Linked DNA regions of Homo sapiens: region 2 is linked to region 1. The links are contacts of gene promoters, found by promoter capture Hi-C in blood cells and fetal thymus (Javierre and others, 2016). All regions are on one chromosome and are shown on one strand. Each heading gives the region's core, a stretch centred on a gene start or on the middle of the fragment in contact. The rest is flanking DNA. Distances are from core to core; before and after follow the strand shown. Region 1 holds the start of POLR1A (RNA polymerase I subunit A). Region 2 has its middle 4.7 kb from the start of KDM3A.

Evidence for each region. Contacts are between HindIII fragments. The CHiCAGO score rates a contact against its expected background, and 5 or more counts as called.
Region 2: a fragment that was not itself captured here is called in contact with the fragment with the promoter of POLR1A in region 1 in 1 of 17 cell types (fetal thymus); the score reaches 8.6 in fetal thymus.

Annotation. Positions count from the first base shown.
Region 1 is chr2:86,101,120-86,108,345 of GRCh38, forward strand. POLR1A (RNA polymerase I subunit A) reads right to left here and starts at 4,767. Exons shown (of 34, transcript NM_015425.6): 1 at 4,581-4,767. The coding sequence starts at 4,657. It overlaps PTCD3 (pentatricopeptide repeat domain 3), which reads left to right and starts at 5,116. Exons shown (of 24, transcript NM_017952.6): 1 at 5,116-5,232. The coding sequence starts at 5,129. It overlaps LOC124907852 (a long non-coding RNA gene), which reads left to right. Exons shown (of 2, transcript XR_007087121.1): 2 at 86-202. RefSeq lists enhancers at 4,287-4,376, 4,577-4,786, 5,167-5,426. The HindIII fragment of the contact is 4,349 bases long and covers 1,147-5,495 here.
Region 2 is chr2:86,433,057-86,440,282 of GRCh38, forward strand. It overlaps a transcript of KDM3A not described here. Among named protein-coding and RNA genes, the nearest start is that of KDM3A, 4.7 kb to the right of the region's middle. The HindIII fragment of the contact is 3,550 bases long and covers 3,298-6,847 here.

The sequences.
Region 1 (7,226 bases), core at 3,517-6,016:
GTTTGGTTTGAAAGGTGCTCCCATAGGACACAACTATGTTTAGTAGGCTAACTTTGCTTTTACAATTTTCTCCTTTCTGATTTAGAAAATAAAGACAAAGAAACCATCCCAATCTGACAGCCTAGAGGAAATCCGAAGGCTGAAACGAGAGTCCCCTAATGATGTAAACACTCCCTTTAATAAAGCACAAAAATAGTGTCAAGTTTTCATGAGTGGTGACATGTTCTGAGTGTAAAACAATGTTAGTCTATCAGGAACTAAGCTGCTCAGCTCTAGAAGATTCTATGTTGCATGGCCAGTGTCACTCTAAGGGCCAAGGCGACAGGGAGGCAGATCTGCTGCTGTGGCTCTTGTCTATATGGTCACCTTGCTGCCAGTAAGCTAATTTCATGAGAAACTTGATCTAACTCAAAAGTTGTGCGTGTGGTCTCTTCCCACAAATCTAGAGTCCACCTGCAACCCTGAACTGGGTAACATTGAACAAATTACTTACCTTTTGTTCTTTAATCTTAATTTTTGAAACTGTAATAAAATATATATAAATTCATCATAACTGTTTCAATTAGTACAGTTCAGTGGTATTAAGTACATTTGCATTGTGCTACCATCACCACTCTCCATCTGCAGAACCCTTTTTCATCTTGTAAAATTGAAACCCTGTACCCATTATACAGTAATTCTTCATCTCCTCTGCTACCATCATTTTACTTTCTGTTTTGATTAATCTGACTACTCTAGGTACCTTATATTAAGTGGAATCACACCGTACTTGTCCTTTTGTGACTGGCTTATTTCACTTAGCACCGTGCCCTCAAGGTTCATCCATGTTATAGGATGTGTTGAACTTTTTTCCTTTTTTAGGGCTGAACAATATCCCATTGCATGTATATACCACATTTTATGTATCAACCCATCCATTGATAGACACTTGGGTAGTTTCCACTTTTTCACTATTGTGAATAATGCTGCTATGAACATAGGTATACAAATATCTCTTTGAGACCCTACTTTCAATTCCTTGGATACACATCCAGAAGTAGAATTGCTGGATCACATGGTAATTTTGTCTTTAGTTTTTTGAGAATCCACCCTACTGTTTTCCATAGTGGTTGCACCATTTTACATTCACACTAATGGTGTACAAAAAGCTTCCACTTTCTCCACACCCTTGCCAACACTTACTACTTTCTGTTTTTCTGATAGTAGCACCCTACTGGATTTGAGGAGCTTTTTATTTGCATTTCCCTAAAATTGGTGATGTTCAACATCTTTTCACATACTCACTGGCCATCTGTATGTCTTCTTTGGAAAAATGTCTGTTTAAGTCCTTTGTCCATTTTAAAATTGAATTTTGTGTTGTTGTTGAGTTGTAGGAGTTCTTTTTATGTTCTAGATATCAATCTCTCATCAGATATATAATTTACAAATATTTTCCCCCATTCCATGGGTTGCCCTTTCACTCTGCTGACTGTATCCTTTGATAACTACCTAATTTTTTTCTCACCTGAAGTCTGGGCATCACAGCAGCTCTATTGGGATGATTAGAAGATAACATACAGAAAATACAGTGTCAAACAAAGTTCCTCTCTCTTTGTAGAGGAGAAAGTCCCTCCCACCATTACAGGAGTGGGATGAAGAGTAGGGGCAACTAGCAAGGATTCCACCAGTCAGTAGAGTTTGAGATCAATAGACTTAGGTTTGAAGATGACCTTTGCCACTTCCTAGAGAGACATTTTGTTCTCTGGGCCTGAATTTTTTACTGGAGGTGCCACCACAAATGGTGTTGTTAAGAACTGAGAATGGGTGTCGTTAAGGACTGAAAGTGCCAAGCACTGAGCAGCTAGCTCCTCTATCCATCTATTCATACACTCAACAAATACCCAGAGTGCTCACTGTGTGCCAGACAGTGTTAAGTGCTAAGGAAACAGACAAGAACTGCTATGCTTACAGGCCTTACATTCTATTGGAGGAACGGGAACAGACACAAAATGTATAGTCTGTTAGACGGCAGAAAGGGCTATGACGAAAAATAATGCAGGGAAAGGGAAGAGCAGAGTAGGCAAGTGGTCCTAGAAGCCCACTAAGGAGGAACTTGGGCAAAGGCTGAAGGAGTTGAGGGAGCAGGCCATACAGTCACCTGGGCAGAGGGTTTTACAGGAGGAAGAAGCAGGGAGTGCAAAGGTCCTGAGGTGGATGTGTGCCCGTGGTGCTCTGGATGCAGCAAGGAGGTCAGGGTAGCCAGAATAGAGGTGAGATCAGAGAGGTAACAGGAGACTGAAATGACCCCTCCAGGCCATTTGTAAAGACTTGGTTTTTACTCTGAGTGAGATGGGAAGCTATTAGAACCTGGCACAATAAAAGGTGGCAGTATTATTGAAATGTCTCAACTCTAAACTTGTTTGAAAACTCCACAATTATCTTTTTAAAAATTCAGGCAACTTAAAACACTTCTGCTTTTGGATGAAATCGTATCCACTTATGGCAGTGATGATATAATTGGAATTTCTGGGCTAGCACACTGTTACCAATGATACCAGAGCTGTGGCTCAGGAGTTTATTCATCCATTTATTCAGACTTGAGGATAAAAGACAAGAGTGACACATATAAGAAGCTCAAGGATAGTGGAGGAAGACAAATATACATAAGCACAAAAAGTCACTAAAGCACCATGACAGACAACTGTATCATGTGCAAAATGACCTCACAAAACAAGGGAGGTGAACTGAGCTTTCAGGTGTGTATGTTGGGTAGGGGACAGAGGGAAGTACCTCCTTTTGGCTGAAAGGACACTGCATGCAGAGGGAATAGCTTAAAGAAAGGCCCAGATGTTGAAATATGATGGCGGTTTCTGGAATATGCAGGTGGTTTAATAGGGCTGAAGAAGGGATGATGTTATAGCTAAAATCAGCATTGGTCTGATCATGGGAGACTTTGCAGGCTATGCTAAGAAAATATACTTTATCTGAGGGAAATGGAGAACATTTGGAGGGTTTTAAGGGTGACAGTAGCATGACTACATTTGCACTTTGCAAGAATAATTTTGACAGCAGTGTGGAGCATGCACTTGAGAGGTGTAAGGGGAGGGTGGAAGGAAAAGACAATTCAAATATGAGATAAGGGCCAGAGGCAACACAGTAGCAATTGGGAGAAAAAGGAGACTAAGAACAAATAGACATGTAGGTGACACAAAGTAAGAGCCCAATAAATAAGTTATATGTCAGGAGAGATCTAGAATAATTTTCCAGTTTCTAGTGACTATTTTGCACTACGTACACCATTTTGGAGGGGTAAGTAACCCCTCCCTTTGAAGAGGGATGCCGTGTTGAGTTTTTTTTTTTTTTTTTTTGAGACAGAGTATTGCTCTGTCGCCAGGCTGGAGTGCAGTGGCACAATCTCGGCTCACTGCAACCTCCGCCTCCTGGGTTCAAGCGATTCTCCTGCCTCAGCCTCCCGAGTAACTGGGACTACAGGTGCCCGCCACCACGCCCAGCTAATTTTTGTATTTTTAGTAGAGACGGGGTTTCACCATGTTGGCCAGGGATGGTCTCGATCTCCCGACCTCGTGATCCGCCGGCCTCGGCCTCCCAAAGTGCTGGGATTACAGGCGTGAGCCACCGTGCCCGGCCATGTTGAGTTTCTGATATGCATTTAGGCCATGTTGAGTTTTTGATATGCATTTAAGATCTCTGTGTGAAATTCAATTAAAGATGTACAGACAGCTGAACAAATGGGTCTGAAAATCAGGGAAATAAATTTGCGTTGGGGATTTAAATTTGAGACTATAAATCATGAAAGTGGTGAGATTGTCTAGGGACAATATTTACCATGAAGAAAACATTACTAGAATAGAATCTTGAAGAACATCAACATTTAAGGAGTAAAATGAGGTACAGACCTTGCTCACCAATGTGTCATTAACGCCTAGCTTGGTGCCTGGAAAAAACTGGATGCTCAATAAATGTTTGTGAGGTTATAGATCGATAGAGGAAGAGAGGGAGGTAGAAGTATTTGTCATAAAAATAGGAGAACTTGAAGACAAATAAGGTTCTGGAAGAAAGGAAAGTTTCAAGAGAGTGCATTGGAGAATGTCAAATGCTACCTTGATCAAAATGAAGACTAAAGAGAGTTCCCTTGATTTAACAACCAGACCGAGAATATAGCAGGGTCCTAGCAAAGAGAAGTTAACGCCTGAACTGACACTTGAAGGACAATCATTTTACAAACAAGAGGAAACTTACTACGTGCCTAATTAACCATGTCAGGTACACTATGGTTAATTCCACAAATGCTTGTTAGTTAACGAGGAGACTGGCAGATGATAACGCTGCAGACCAGGACCCTCCCCACCCTTATATTCCCCTACCTCAGCGCAAACTCTTTCCCCCAGCACCACCGGCCTCTTATCCAGGCAGTCCACGCCGGCCCAGGAACGTTCCCAGAACTACGGCTCCCAGCAGGACAAGCGCCAGACAAGCCTGGACTCAAGAGGATAGACTGGGCAAAAGCGCTTCTGGGAATCGTAGTTTAGGGCGCCGACCTCAAGATCCAGGCTGGGCACGCTACCCGACCAACTCCTTACTTGAGCTCTTCAGCCGAATACATCCCGAAGGAAATGCCCTGCAGCCGCCGCCAGGGCATGTTCTTGGAGATCAACATCCTCCAGGTCCGTTTTGAATTCCGACACCCCAAGAGACGTTCCACTCACCACCTGACTATTCTTAATTCAACCTCAAGCCCGGAGTCACCACGCGATTCAACGTGCGCTTGCGCGCGGAAGCGGTCGCAGGAACGACATTTACGTGGATGAGATCACTTCTACATGGGGGGGGAACAAATAGTTGTACGACTCTCTGCTCGCTCTTTTGTTTTGAAAACAATCAAAGATATATAAGACATCAAAATAATCATTTAGGAAAATTCCTCCGAGGCAAATCGGGTGTATAGAGCTTTTAGCTTCCGTGACGAAGTCTTTCAAACCATGAGCTTGCAACCTCCCATTTTATGATTGCTTTCGTCTTCTTCCGCTTCAGCCAATAGCGGAGCTGTTCCCTGCTCCCCGCCCACTGCGCCCCACCTTCCTGAAGGTCGAGGCACGCTTTCCCAACATGCTCTGCAGAGAAATCAAAGATGGCGGTTGTATCTGCTGTTCGCTGGCTGGGCCTCCGCAGCAGGCTTGGCCAGCCGCTGACGGGTCGGCGGGCGGGTTTGTGTGAACAGGCACGCAGCTGCAGGTAAGAGACGCTTAGGGTATCCGCGAAGAAGACCGCGGAGTCACCTTAGTCCTATGTTTCCCAGCTGGCTGTGGAAGTAGGCACGATGAAATGGTTTGCTCATGCGCGCCCTTAACGGTCGCGTGCCCTTAAGACCAGGTACGCGGAGGTGGCCCTTTGAAATAGGATTCGCAACGCATTTATTCATTAGAGAAATACTTATTGGTTGCTTGCAATATTCTGTAGTTAACACCATCCGCAAAGCTAGGACCCTGCTCTCATGAAGCTTGCGTTCCAGTGAGTGTGGCTATTAGCAACACTACCCCAAATTAAAAATTATCCGCCATTACTCATTTTAACCCAATCAGGAGGAGCGAGGAGAACGTACAAGATCTTCCCAAATAAAAGGCAGTCTCTGGTCGCCACCGTGGGGACTTTGGCTAAAGAAGTTATCAGGTTTTCGTAAAAGCAGAAAAGTCTAAAAGATCTGACTATGCCCTTTTGATCTGTGATAGTTATAGCTTGGAACATGTATGACCTATCTGTGTAATTTTTTTTTCACTCAGTACAAACAGTGGCATTGTGGGAATATGAGAGGCAGTAATTTGTAGTGAAAACTTGCTAAAAGCCTAATTTTAGGTTTAGTGTTTGCCATTCACTTAATTGGATGATAATAGACAGATTTCCTCATCTGCAGACTAGAGTTGGTAATAACCATCCGAAAAGTTTGTGAGGTATAAGTGGGGTATGTAATTTACAATATGTTTTTATATGTACTCTCCCTTAGTTCCCCTCAAGAAAGAGAAACCACTCCATCTGATACTGCAGAAACCTTTGTGCTGCCATTCAATGCCAGTCCTCCGTTTCCTGGTAGCCATCGTTAGCATTTTTCTACTCATTTTCTTTGCCTGAAGCAGAATCTCTTCCTCAGCATCCGTTCTCAAAATAACTGTGATCTCTGTTTTAAGGTCATGAGAAACAAATAGTGTGACTTGAAAGAGTTGATCTCAGAAACTTGAAAGAGTTGATCTCTTTCTGAAATGTCCTTAACGTAGAGGGGTATTCTTGTTTTAAATGATACCTGAAACCAGATACTACTGGAGGAAGTATCTGTCTGTGCAATCACATCTTGACAATTTTCTGAATGTTACTGATGCCATTTAGTAAGGGGAAACACAAGATAATACTAACCGTCACATTATCTGTGGTGTGTTGACTGTGTTTTTAGTGTGATCAGAACACTTAAACAGAACACTTAAAAACTCAGTCATGGGCCAATGATTCTATATTTTGGTTTAAAAAGGATTTCATATTGAACCTCTGAAAATAGAAAATATCAGCAATTCCAAGTCTAAATCAGGCCTTATGTATTTGGTACATTCTTGATTGTTGAAAGAAGTGGAATGAGAAGCCATGGGTCATCTTCCCTATGTTGTAATTGCTTTAAGTGAGGTAGTCCTTTCTGATCAGGGCAGTATCTGTATAGAAGCAAGAGCTCACTGAATTGTTCTTTTAAACATCATAGTGTTTTGGGTTCCTGAAGTTGAAAGTTCTTCATTTCAAACCAGATTGTTCAAGTGCTATTAAAAACTTTCCTCCCTCTCTGCCATTTATGTAATGAGATTGCTTGCTTCCAAAACTTTTGTCTAGCCGGGCATGGTGGCATATGCCTGTAGTCCTAGTTACTCAGGAGGCTGAAGCAGGAGGGTCACTTGAGCCCAGGAGTTCAAGGGTTCAGTGAGCTATAATTGCACTACTTCACTAAAGGCTAGGCAATGGAGCAAGACCCTGTCTCTAAAAAAAAAAAAAAAAAAGTTTTGACAGTCTTGTCCATATCTTGTATCCATTCCTTAATGATATTGAACATGTGTACAGACTGTCTTCTCAGCGTTCATTGACATGAGTTATCCAGTTTAATCCGTGATAATTGGAGAATTTGGGCTCAAAGTACACATAGGTGGAGGTGAGCTGGGTACTTCATTAATGACTATTAGATTTAAGGCTTTTGTTTTTTT
Region 2 (7,226 bases), core at 3,823-6,322, 330 kb after region 1:
GACCATCTCAATAGATGCAGAAAAAGCATTTGATAAAATTCAATATCTCTCCATGATAAAAACTATAAAAAACTTAGGTATGGAGGGAACATACCTCAAAACAGTAAAGGCCACATATAACAAACTGACAGCCTACATCATACTGAGTGAAGAAAAGTTGAAAGCTTTTTCTCTAAGAACTAGAACAAGACAAACATTCCCACTTGCACCACTTGTATTCAACATAGTACTGGAAGCCGTAGGCCAGCCCAGAGGAATTATGCAAGAGAAAGAAAGGGCATTCAAATTGGAAAAGAGGAAGTCAAATTGTCCTGTGTGCAGATAACATGATTTATACATAAAAAAATCAAGACTCCACCAAAAAACTCTTAGAACTGATAAATTCAGTAAAGTTGGAGGATATAAAATCAATCTACAAAAATCCAAAAAATCAAAAATGAAGGTGAGGTTGGGTGCAGTGCCTAACACCTGTAATCCCAACGCTTTGGGAGGCCAAGGTAGGAGGATCACTTGAGGCCAGGAGTTTGAGACTAGCCTGGACAACATAGCAAGATCCTGTCTCTAAAAAAAATGAAGGTGAAATTAAAACCTATTGAATAGATGAAAGCTGAAATAATTTATCTCCAGCAGGTCTCAACTTCAAGATATACTAAAATAAGTTCATTAGAGTAAAATAAGAGCTAGACTTTACCTGAAAGCTGCAAAAATTAATAGTTTAGATTTATGTATAATAAACTTATTTAAACTTATTCCATAAGAAGAAAAATTAAGACAACTTATTTGAAAACAAAGATGAAGTCTCATCTTCCAATTGACTTTCTCATTAGTTTCTTCCAAAGTAAGGTCTCAAAGTGGTGACTGACACTTTTTTCATAATGAACCCTTTCACAACATTGTATAGCCTGTGGTAAGTACAAAGGTAAAGGAAGACATATTTAAGAGCTTTACTATCAGTATTAACTCTTCCTGGTTCAATTGTGTTCTTTTTTTGTCTATTAAGTTAAAATACAAACCAACATTGATATTCACTTTCCAATATGTTAAAACATAATGTTACTTATGAAAAATATTTTTCATGTAATTGTGTTATGTCTTGTATATATACCTCAAAGTCAAATGAATATCTTTCATGTATGTTCTAAAACAACATAAACAACACAACATTAATAATATCCTTAATTATAAACATAGTAAGATGTTTTGCCATTGCTGCTAAATGACATTTTGTACTTCTTTCCTTATGCTCTCTGTATTGTATTAAACAACTCCCAGTGCTGTTGAACTGCTCTTATTTTAAAAAACAAAACAAGAAAAAACCTTGACATTGCATACATTTTTTGGTTAATCAAATCATATACATAGAAACATGTAATGCAACTGAGTTGAATATATATCAAATTCTTGACTTAGTATTACCAATGAGCAGAAATGCACAGTAAGCAAATATTTTATTATGCCCTTTATTTGTCCTTATTGATATCTAAATTACTGAAAAAGGTATGAATCTATTTCTTAAGGCTGATTAGGCTGAAGGGAAATTATATCAGATGGAAGTCTGGTTTTTCAGGAAGAGATGCAGAAAGAGTAAAAATGTTGGAAAATATAAAGAGCAGAAAAGGAAAACAAATAAAACATTAAGAAGTGTTTTTAAACCCAAACATATTCATCGTATCCAAGAACTGAAAACAGTTCAGATATCCATCAACAAAGCATGGACATATTGGCTGGGCACTGTGGCTCACACCTGTAATCCCGGCACTTTGGGAGGCTGAGGCAGGTGGATCACCTGAGGTTAGGAGTACGAGACCAGCCTGGCCAACATGGTGAAACCCCATCTCTACTAAAAAACTACAAAAACTAGTCAGGCATGGTGGCACGCCCCTGTAGTCCCAGCTACTTGGGAGGCTGAGGCTGAGGGAGGAGAATTGGTTGAACCGCGGAGGCAGAGATTGCAGTGAGCTGAGATCACGCCACTGTACTCTAGCCTGGGCAACAGAGCAAGATGCTGTCTCAAAATAAAACAAAACAAAAAAAGCGTGGACATACAAACTGTGGCATATTCAGACATCGGGATACTACCCAGCAATGAAAAGGAACAAAATTCCTATAGATGTGATGACCTGGATGACTCTCAAAAACATGTTGAGTAAAGGAAGCTAGACACAAAAGAGTATATACTGTATTACTGCCTTTAAATTAAACAACGGGCAAAGGTAATTTATGATGATAGAAACTGGAACAACAGTTACTCTGGGAAGGAGTACTTCCTTCCCAGCATGAGGGAATATTTAGAGGTCATGGAAATATTCTGTCTCAGACTTTGGCAAATCTTTTCTATAAGGAGCAAAAGTATTATTATTTTTGGCTTTCAAGGACATACAGTCTCTGTTATAACTACTTAAGTTTATCACTGTAGTGTGAAATCAGCCATAGATAAAACATAAACAAATGGGTATGGCTATGTTCTATTAAAATATTCTTTATAGCTGAGTGCAGTGGCTCAGGCCTGTAATCCCAGCACTTTGGGAGGCCAAGGCAGGTGGATCACTTGAGCTCAGGAGTTCGAGAGCAGCCTGGACAACATGGCGAGACTCCATCTCTATTTTTAAAAAAATTATTAATAAAATAAAAATTAAAACAATATTATTTGTAGACACAAAGAATATAATAATAATATAATAATTTCTCACCAATTATATAAAATTTGAATTTTATATAATTTTAATGTGTCACAAAACATTGTTCTCGCTTCCCCCTCATATATTAAAAAATGTAAAAACCACTCTTGAAACGCTGTAGAAAATTAGGCAGTGGAACAGATTTGGCCTGTGGCTGTAGTTTGCTGACCCCTGTTCTATATCTTGATGGGGTGTAGGTTATTTGGATGCATGTAATTCATAAGCTGATAAAAATGTTCACTTAAGATCTATGCTTTTCTCTGGATATAAATTATTCCTCAACAGAAAAAGTCTTTAAAATACCCAGAGGCAAGGAGCTTAGCGCTGACACTCTGGGATGACTTCATTAATTGTCACAGGTGCTTTGCCTTAACAGAAATAGCATAAGACATTTAGATTTTCACATAAAACACGAGTTATTCTTGTGCTATTTCAGGGAAGCAGATTTAGGCAAAAATATTGTGCTCTAATTGTTTTGAAATTGAGAAATCAAGGTCAAGCATATTCCAAATTTTCTGTTGCCAACTTTCTTAAGGCATTTGGGAACTTCTGATGTCCTCTGGAGCTAGGGTTGACACAGCAAGTTAGTGTCAGGATTTGACTGGAATATATACCCTGAAGCTTGGATAATTTTTACTAACCAGTGGAAGTTATTTCTGGCAATACCCAGTGGCTAAAATATATTTGTTGGCAGTTTCAATATCCTGCTGCTCAGTCCTCCATCTGTCTTCACCTCAGTGTATCCTTTGACCTTACTGCATGGTCTTCCAAGTTGAAACTCTTTTTGGCTTGCTTCCAGAATGTACCTCTCACCTGGTTCTCCTGCTGCTTCTAAGAGATCTCTTGGTCTTTTCAGTGCCCACTGCTGGTCCCTACATGAATGCCCTCCTCACCCTCCTTGGGGTCTGACATCCATGTCAAATCACTCTCCTACACACTCTCCTCCCCCTCCTCAGGCTCTGTTACTCATGCCAGGCTTTCTTCTCATGTAAACAGTCTCTTCACTCTGTTTGGGCTCCAACATACCACACTAGGCTGCCCCCATTCATGGATGCCCTCCTCACCTCACTTGGACTCTAGATAACCCAGGCTAGGTTAACCTTTTGTGTGTCTACCCTTCTCACCCCACTTGGGCTCTGACTGTCTATGCCCGGCTATTACTCCTTACTCTTTAGAGCTCTAACATCCCATGGCTGACAGCCTCTCCTTATTAACACCTATCTTGCTCTGCCCCTCCTAATGGCCTCAAGACTGAAATGTTTAGAAAGAGGAAAGGAAAGAGAAAAAAGTAGAAGAGAGGAGGGAATTTTAAAATATTTTATTGGATTTTAAAATATGTAGCATTTTGATCTACCTGGAACTTATTTTCGTGAATGTTGGTGTAGGAATCTTGGTTATATATACATTATATACTTTTTTTTTTTGAGACAGAGTCTTGCTTCGTCATCCAGGCTGGAGTGCAGTGGCGTGATCTCAGCTCACTGCAACCTCTGCTTCCTGGGTTTAAGGTTCAAGTGATTCTTCTGTCTCAGCCTCCCGAGTAGCTGGGATTGTGGATGTGCACCACAACAGCCAGCTAATTTTTACAGTAGCGATGAGGTCTCACCATGTTGGCCAGGCTGGTCTCAAACTCCTGACCTGAAGTGATCTGCCACCTCAGCTTCCCAAAATGCTGGGATTACAGGCATAAGTCACTGCGCCCGGCTTATATATACATTTTTAATGGATAATCAATAGACCTCAAAGCATGTATTGCATAGTTTATTCTTTACACCCACTAGAAATATGTCGATCACAAACTAATTTTTAATATACACTGGGTCTGTTTCTTTGTTCTCTTCATTACTTATATATTTATGTCTTGATGTTTTTATTTGTTGTTTTGTTAGAGGAGAAATGACATATTTATCAGATCATATCAAGAGACAGAATTTTTCATCTTCTTTATACATGTCAGCAAAGTCTAATTTTCTTCATATAGGTTGTGTTCATTTCATGTATTAATTTTTAGGGATTACATGTTTTATTATCATTAATGGTTTTTATTTTTCTACTGTATGTTCTAATTGATGCTTGCTAAGGAATAGGAATTCTTTTGATTTTCGTTTGTTGATCTTTTATTGCATTATCTTTTTGATTCTTGTTTTAATTCTAATAATTTGTCACTGATGCTTTTGATTTATCTACAAATGTTTTGGGCTTTTTCTTCCATTCCAATGTTTACATTGTATTATTTTTCTTGTCTTATTACATTAGCAATTAACCTCTATTGTAACTTGAATAGTAATGACAGCATTGGGCATCCTTATCTTGCTCCTGACTTTATTGGGAATTTTTCTAAAATTTCACAATTAAGTACAATGTTTAAGTATATTTCTGGTAGATATCCTTTATAGAGTTATAAAATTTTCTTTTCTTGATAGTTTGCTAAGAGTTTTTATAATGAATGAAAATGAAGTATATAAAATTTTTGGTGTATCTATTGAGATAATCATATGTATTTTCTCCTTTAATTTGTTAATGTAGCAGATTCCATTAATGAGAGTTAAAAATTAAATTTTAAAAGTAACATGTGAGTACATTTACCTTATAAAATGAGAGAATTACAGGGAGTGGGGAGATTGGGTAGATGTTGGTCAAAGGACACAAAATTTCAGTTAGACAGGAGGAATAAGTTCAAATGATCTAATGTACATCATGGTGACTACAGTTAATGACAATATATTGTATATTTGAAAATTGCTAAGAGTGGATTTTAAGTGTTCTCACCACACAAAAAAAGATGAGTATGTGAGGGAATGCATATGTAAAATAATTTGATATAGCCATTCCACAATGTATATCTATACCAAAACATCATATTGTACACCATATAGTTTTACCTGTCAATTAAAAATAAGGTGATAAAAATGTAAATACAAAAAAAGTGTATTTATAAAAAATTAGAATTACAAATAATATGTGTTGTCTTTGACTAATACCCCTAATTCTAGTGTGCACCCCCTAATACCAGTAACCATTACTGTAAGTTTTAATAACCATATTTAACAGAACATATATACTGTTGTTTTTGTATGTGTATTTTGAAATAGTACCAAATGCAAATTTCTTTTTCATTCATAATGTATTTTGGTAACTATTTTTATTGGAACATCTAGCTGCTTTGACTCCTTTACAAATCCTCTACAACTTTCCAATATATGCATTACATTCCATTTATTGTTAATAATTTTATTTATTCCTTCTCCAACTGGAGTACACTTAGGTTATTTGCAGATGTTTTTTCGTTCATATGTGTGTGGGTGTTTTTCTGTGGTACGTAACTTATATTCCTAGGTTTTTAGAAAGTTTAAAAACATTTTTTAAAAATTATGGGTGGTATTGAATATAAGTGTACACTTATAATCTTCTTAGTTTTCTATGTAATTTAAAAATACTCTTAAGATCACAAGTGTTCAATGTGACTGCATGCTCTATTTAGCCCTAAGGTGAATATACGATTTTTCTTTTTTAACCTGTCATGGTGAATTTTAGTAATTTTCTAATCTTGAAGTATCTTTGCATTCATATAACACTAATTAATCATATCAATTACCTAAAAAAAATGCTGCTGGATTTAATTTGCTGGTATTTTATAAAAGAATTTCCCATCTATGTTCCTAAGTATAATTGAACCATAGTTTTTCTTTCTTATACTCGCCCAGTTCAGAATTTGTGAAACGGTTTTATAACTTTTATAAAATGCATTGGATATCTTTCCATCTTTTCTAAGCTCTGAAATAATGAATTCAACATAGAAAGTATATGTTCCTTCAGGTTCAATAGAATTTTTCCCTTGAGTTGTTTTTCAAATTAATATTTAATTACATAATCTAAGTTCTCCATATCTTCCCTTATATTTTACATTTGAGTTGCATATTTCTGAGATATTTATGTCTTCTACTCTGAAAACAAATTGTCAAATTTGTAAAATTTCTCATCGTTCATAGCGTCACCTTAGGATAGGCCATGTTTTTAGATTCATAACAGTTCAGGAGACCATACTGTCTTCATGGACTTTATCTTTAATATAAAATCCTTTCTCTTTTGATACTTTTAATTGTATTAATATTGCTATACTGCTTTCATTTGGCTACCATTTGATTAAATATTTTAGCCCAGTATTTTCAAGCTTCCTGTTTTGTAAGCATTTGCTTATGGTCAATTTATAGCTGGATTGTCCTTTTATTCCCAACTGTCTTTTAAAACTTGTGAGTGAAATTAACCCATTTACATTTATTGTAAATACTGATGTTTGGACTTTTCACATGAAAAACATTTTTACCATATGTTCTGGTTTCTTTTGCTTATCTCGTTCCCATTTCTGCCTTCTTTCAGCTGGATAGGTTTTTTCTTCTCATTTAGCAGCCCCCTTCCTTTAAATGGTCTACAGATTATAAATCCAATTTAATTCTTGTTACTAACTTTAAAAACTTAAAATCACATTCAGAATATGTATATTGAAAATCAACATCCAGAGTTGATTTGCATCTATAATCCCTTATATGT